2 separate regions of the Homo sapiens genome follow, and region 1 is linked to region 2. Evidence: promoter capture Hi-C in human tissues and cell types (Jung and others, 2019). All regions are on one chromosome and are shown on one strand. Each heading gives the region's core, a stretch centred on a gene start or on the middle of the fragment in contact. The rest is flanking DNA. Distances are from core to core; before and after follow the strand shown.

Region 1 (3,117 bases), core at 300-2,799, 72 kb after region 2:
CCAGGCACGGGAGAGAATCTTCTTGTCTGCCAGTTGCTAAGACCTTGGGAAAAGTGCAGTATTTGGGCAGGAGTGTCCCAGTTTTCCAGGTACAGTCTGTCATGGCTTCCCTGGCTAGGAAAGGGAAATCCCCCGACCCCTTGCACTTCCCAGGTGAGGCGATGCCTGCCCTGCTTCAGCTCGCCCTCTGTGGGCTGCACCCACTGTCCAACCAGTCCCAGTGAGATGAACCAGGTACGTTAATTGGAAATGCAGAAATCACCCGCCTTCTGCGTTGATCACGCTGGATGCCGCAGACCGGAGCTGTTCCTATTCGGCCATCTTGGAACCTATCCTCGTTATACTCTTAAAAATTGTTGAGGAACCCAAAGGGTTTTTATTTATAGGGGTTATATTTATTATTAATGTTTACCATATTAGAAATTAAAACTCAGGCCGGGTGCGGTGGTTCATGCCTGTAATCCTAGCACTTTGGGAGGCCAAGATGGGAGGATTGCTTGAGACTAGGAGTTCAAGACCAGCCTGGTCAACGTAGCGAGACCCCATCTCTATTTAAATACAAATAAAAGAAAATAAATGAAAACTCAGAAGATTCCAAAATGCAATGAATGTACAAGCACTTATTCCAGTAGCCAAGAGCAAGGACATCATCCCACATTTTATAGGCTCTGAAAAACAGTGTACTTTTGAGAGAATGTAAGTGAAGAGGCAAGTAACATTGAGTATTAGGAAAGTAGTTTGACCTCCTAGACTCCCAAGAACCACTTTGAAAAATGCTGGACTAGATCCTGTAGGACCTTATAGGTACGGAAAGGAGCCAGGAGTTTTTCTAAGTATAATAGGACCACTGAGAGATTGTAGGAGAGCACAAATGGAACAGAGGAACCCATTTGGGAACTATTGTGCCTTGGAGATGATGGTGGTGTAGACTAGGATGGTAGCAATGGAGATGAGATTTGAGAAAGAATGGACAGGATGTACAGGCAAATTGGAAATGGGGGCTGGGGAAAGGGGAGGAGTCCCAGGTGACTTCCAGCACTTGAGGTCCTGGCTGGGCATGGTGGCTTGCACCTGTATTCCCAGCACTTTGGGAGGCCAAGGCGGGTGGATTGTGTAAATGCAGGAGTTCGAGACCAGCCTGGGCAACGTGGTGAAGCCCCATCTCTACAAAAAAAAATTTTTTTAATTAGCCAAGTGTGGTGGTGCGTGCCTGTAGATCCAGCTACTCGGGAGGCTGAGGTGAGAGGATCACCTGAGCCCAGGAGGCAGAGGCTGCAGTGAGCCAAGATCATGCCACTGCACTCCATCCTGGGCAACAGAGTGAGACCCTGTCTCAAAAAAACAACAACAAAAACAAAAACAGAGGTAGTATATTCTGAAGAGTAGAAGGGCAGGCTTGGGGAATATGCCAAGGACTCCATTTTTCATGTGTTAAGTTCAGGTTGCCTGTGAGGCCTCCAAGTGCAGAGGTCAAGGTGTAGCTGAGGGAAGTCTGGCCTGAAGCTGTACCACTGGAGCCATCAGCAGACGCTAATATTGAAGGTTATGGGACTGAATGAAGTCATCTAGGGAAATGGTGTGAAGAACCAAGAGAGGAGAGTCCATGGCTGAGGCTTCATAACCCCAAATTATCTCCCTCTGTTGTAGGAGCTGGACCCTGCCTGGAGGTGGGCAGGTCCTCCTAAGACTTGAGGGAATAGATCCCATTCAGAAGTTGTGAACATGGCTCAGTTAATAGATACGGCCTGTCCCTCAGGAAACACCCAGAATCTGATGCTGTGGCATGTTCCACCCCTGAAATCCCTTTTTAGCCATGAAGTAGCATTCCTTTCTCCCAGCACTGATCTCTTCCCAGAATAGAGTGGCCAAATGATGTTTTAGAAAACTCCATGTTTTGGGTTGTCAGGGATATGAAAACACCAAGAGAAAAATAAATGGCAGCTCCAAAAGTCTTTCCTTCCTAGGAGAGAAGGAGCACCTGCACACTCAGCCCACCATGTCATATTGTGTTGTGATTGCACGTCTGTGTCTTCCACTAGGGACTTTGTCTTAATTGGCTGTTCTATCCCCAGACTTTAGCACAGTGCTTGCATGAAGTAGGTCCTAGGTATAGATTGGATGGATTGATGGATGAGAGGATGCCTGGATAATGCAGGGATGGACAATGGATGGGTGGGTAGATGCAGGATAGATTTTTGCATGAATTGATTGATGTGCCAGTGCACAGATGATTTAGGTCTGCAGGATGGATAGATGGCTGAATGGTTGGATGGATGGATGGATGGGAGGATATCTGGTTAATGCAGAGATGGAGGTTGGATGGATTGATGAATACAGGATAGATAGGTAGACAAATGCATATGTGGTTCAGGATGGATGGCTGCATTGAGCAGAGGTGGAGGATGGATGGACACAAGATGAATAGATATGTGGGTACAGGTGGATAGCTGAACAAAGAAAATCTCTGATGCTGAGCACAATGTTGTTATTCAACAAATTGTCATTGTCCTCATGTCCAGGCTGAATGAGTTAGAGTCTAGTGATGCTCCAGAGGGTTGGTTTAGTCCATAGCAGCCATGGCTGGTTCTTCCCCACTTTCAGTCAGTGCACAGGACTCCTGAGAGAGTGTAATTAAAGGGTTCAGACCTGTTTGCAGGTAGAGGAGAGGAGTAGAGGAGTACAGCCACTAATGTGAACCCTGTACTCTACCTCAGGAGTCCTGAGGCAGGAGGAAGAGAAGAACTGTGTTCCTTCCAGCCACCACTACCTCTTTGGGTCAGTAGCCCAGGTCCAGAAGATGTGGCCTGTCCACATTGGCTGCAGCCCTCACCAGCCCTCAGCAGGGAAGGCAAAGACAGTGTCAAATGATAAACAAAGGGCTGTTGAACCCTCCCAGTGGGACTGTGGAACCCTCCCCAGAATCTTTTCAATAGTTTATTTCTTTGTTGTTTAATAGACCTATCATCCCCCAGTGGCTTAATTTTTTTAATGGAACTTGTTCTGCGTTTGGATATTACTGGCGAATTACTTGATATTATGGTCATCCTCATTATGTCTTTTTTTTTTTTTTGAGATAGAGTCTCACTGTCGCCCAGGTTGGAGTGCAGTGGCGCAATC
Region 2 (2,972 bases), core at 142-2,641:
GAGCCTGCCAGTCCTCACTCCAATCCTCCTTCCCAGTGACAGCAACAGCAGCGGCTCTGGCTCATGAATACCCACCTTGCTGCAGGCTCTGCTGGGTGCCTCAGGCACCCTGAGTTCTCTTCACCAGCCAGTGCTACAGGTGGTATTTGGATGTGGTCGCCATTTTACTAGGGGAGCTGGTGGTTCAGGGAGGGGCAGGGCCTCCCAAGCTCACAAGTCTGGTAGGTGGAATCTGGACCCAGGGCTCCTGGCCCCCCTACCACACCATGGTGTCTCAGGTTTCCTAAGGTAATAAGTACCTTTCCAGAGTCCTGGGAAAGGGTTAAGTTGCCAGCATCAAAAATTAATTAACCTGTAGGATAAAGGGAGTCAATTGACTCCAGAGAAAGCAAGCAGTGTCCCCGGACATTGGGTATATCACCCAAGGAAAGCGTAAGCGAAAGTGGAAGGAGTGGGGAAGTAGAGGAGAGGGAGAGAGGAAGGAAGGAGGAGAAGAAGAAAGAAAGACAAAGAGAGGGAGGGATGATGAGGATGGGAGAGAGAAGGAAGGAAGGAAAAAAGTAAGGAAGGGAAAGGAAGAAAGAAACAAAGAAAAAGAGAAAGGAAGAAGAAAGAAAAGACAGAAAGAAGAAAGAAAAAGGAAGAAAGAAAAAGGAAGAAAGAAAAAGAAAGAAAGAAAGAGAGAAAGAAAGAAAAGAAAGAAAGAAGAAAAGGAAAGAGAGAGAAAGGAGCTGGGCTTTGCTGGTGAAAAGGAGTAGCTGTATAAGGTTACTTCATCTTTCTTTGTTCATCACCTCTACATGGGGAGTAATAGTCCCTCTTCATAAAGATTATGAAGTGAAACCATGTGCTTATAGTGCCTGATACAGGCATTCAATAAATAGCAATAAAAATCATAATGGCTAACCCTTATCTGGAACGTATAATGAGCCAGATACTACATTAAGAGCTTTCCATTTGCCAACTCCTGTAGTCCCCCCAGCAACCCTGGAGGGAACCATTGTTATCACCCCTGTTTTAAGATGACGGCAGGAGGTACAGAGAGTTGAAGTGGTTATTGTTCCAAGCCAGCTTCTACATTCCCCCTAAGGGCCAACTTTAAGTTCCTTGAGTCTCTTAAAGTCTGCAGACAGGAGAGAGGGTGTGAGGGGTGTCTGGGATCCTCCTCCCAGGAAAGGGGCTCACCTTCACAATGACATCCATGGCATTCTTGTCTTCCTGCTTGCTTTCCCCAAAGGACCTGACGTTGAAGGAGCAGATCCTCATGGCCAGGGCGCTGTGGATGGAGAGGAGGAGAAGCAGCAGTGGGGCCAGCTCCCGTGACATCCTGGCGCTGCTCTGGCTTCAAGACTCTGTGAGAAGACAGCAGTGCTTGGAGTGCTGGATTCTGGCCACTTCCGCAGGCTCCACTGACTTATAAAGCCTGCAGATAACAGGAATTACTGGATTTCTCCTTGCAACTTTCAGTTCTCTGAGGAACTGAAGATCATGGGTTTTAATCCCCAAGGAAATACAGATACATTGGGCTAGCCTTTAAGGAGCCCTTATGTTCGTCACCCTGGTGCAGAAATTGGCATGCCTCATTTAGGCGCCATCCTCCACAAAGTCACTCATATCCCAACCGGGAGCCAGCTCTGACATCTAGTCATCGGTCTTGCGGTTGCATGCCATGTGCCTTTTCCTGACAGTGGATGAACTCGGAAGTGGTCCACCCTAGAGGGCACCTGGGGTGACGGAACCTTCTGCTGGGGGACAATGAGGCAGGAGGCATGGGAAATTCTGCTCGGTTTTCTCTAAATCACTGGGATTTGGCGGCCTGCTGTCCTCAGACACACCCAGACTGTGACTCTAATTGCCCTGGTGGTGTAAAGTAAGGTCAAGAGTAGTTTGAATTACTTAATTTTTTTAGGCAGCTTTACCGTACAAATACTAGGAGTGTGTTGCCAGAGAAAGCAATTGGGGATCTGATGGAATGGATGAGGAAAATGTCCCTGGACTCTGCGAGCAAATAGCCCGTGAAACCCATGGAGAGACCCGTGATTGAAGCTGATATTAATTTAATATTGGCGAGAGTTGTGTGACCCTGGGAGAGAAAGGTCTTGTAAGAACTGTAGGATATCAACTCAAGCAAAATGACTTTTAGAGATATGGGCAGGAAACTATGAAGATCTGTAAAGCAAAAAAAAATTAAAAAAAAAAGCAAAATCCAATCAAGGTATATTAATGGACTTTGGCAAAGACAATTCTGTGAAAAGGGTAGGGAATAAGAATAACTCCAAGCCAGCATCGGGATCTGTGGACCAACCCCTCTTGTGGTGATGGGTCTGTGGCCACAGCCACAGGGAAAATTATACATATATCCCCAACATACATCCAGGCAGCATACTGGCCAAGCATGCCAGGAATTCTATAAGATAACCCCAAATAGTACATGGAAGGAAATGGTTTCCTGAGTTCGTGCTGCAATGAATCTCCCTGTTGTCTGCAACCTAAGACCTCAGGCCTGGTTGAATCTCTGGTAAAGGTGGCTCTGGGCCGGGCGCAGTGGCTCACTCCTGTAGCCCCAGCACTTTGGGAGGCTGAGGTGGGTGGATCACTTGAGGTCAGGAGTTCAAGGCCAGCCTGGCCAACATGGTGAAACCCTGTCTCTACTAAAAATACAAAAATTAGCCAGGCGTGGTGGTGGGCGCCTATAATCCCAGCTACTTGGGAGGCTGAGGCAGGAGAATGGCTTGAACTTGGGAGGCAGAGGCTGCAGTGAGCCAAGATTGCACCACTGCACTCCAGCCTGGGCAACAGAGTGAGATTCCATCTCAATAAAATACAAAAACAAAAAAAAAGGAGCTCTAGGGAATGGTTAATTGTCTTTCTTGGTGAATGGGCATCTTCCAACCAGAAAAAAGATTTAGAATTAAAGTGTAGAAATGTTTAAGAGACTCAGAGCCATGGTATACTCTTTTTGTGTGTTTTAA

The links. Contacts are between HindIII fragments. The study calls those that stand out against the background at their distance.
Region 1: a fragment that was not itself captured here is called in contact with the fragment with the promoter of DNASE1L3 in region 2 in 8 of the 25 tissues and cell types used here (H1 embryonic stem cells, IMR-90 fibroblasts, aorta and 5 more).

The regions. Positions count from the first base shown.
Region 1 is chr3:58,281,401-58,284,517 of GRCh38, forward strand. All of the region lies in intron 7 of ABHD6 (abhydrolase domain containing 6, acylglycerol lipase), which reads left to right. Among named protein-coding and RNA genes, the nearest start is that of RPP14, 23 kb to the right of the region's middle. The HindIII fragment of the contact is 5,775 bases long and covers 1-3,117 here.
Region 2 is chr3:58,209,581-58,212,552 of GRCh38, forward strand. DNASE1L3 (deoxyribonuclease 1L3) reads right to left here and starts at 1,392. Exons shown (of 8, transcript NM_004944.4): 1 at 1,186-1,392. The coding sequence starts at 1,326. The HindIII fragment of the contact is 9,412 bases long and covers 441-2,972 here.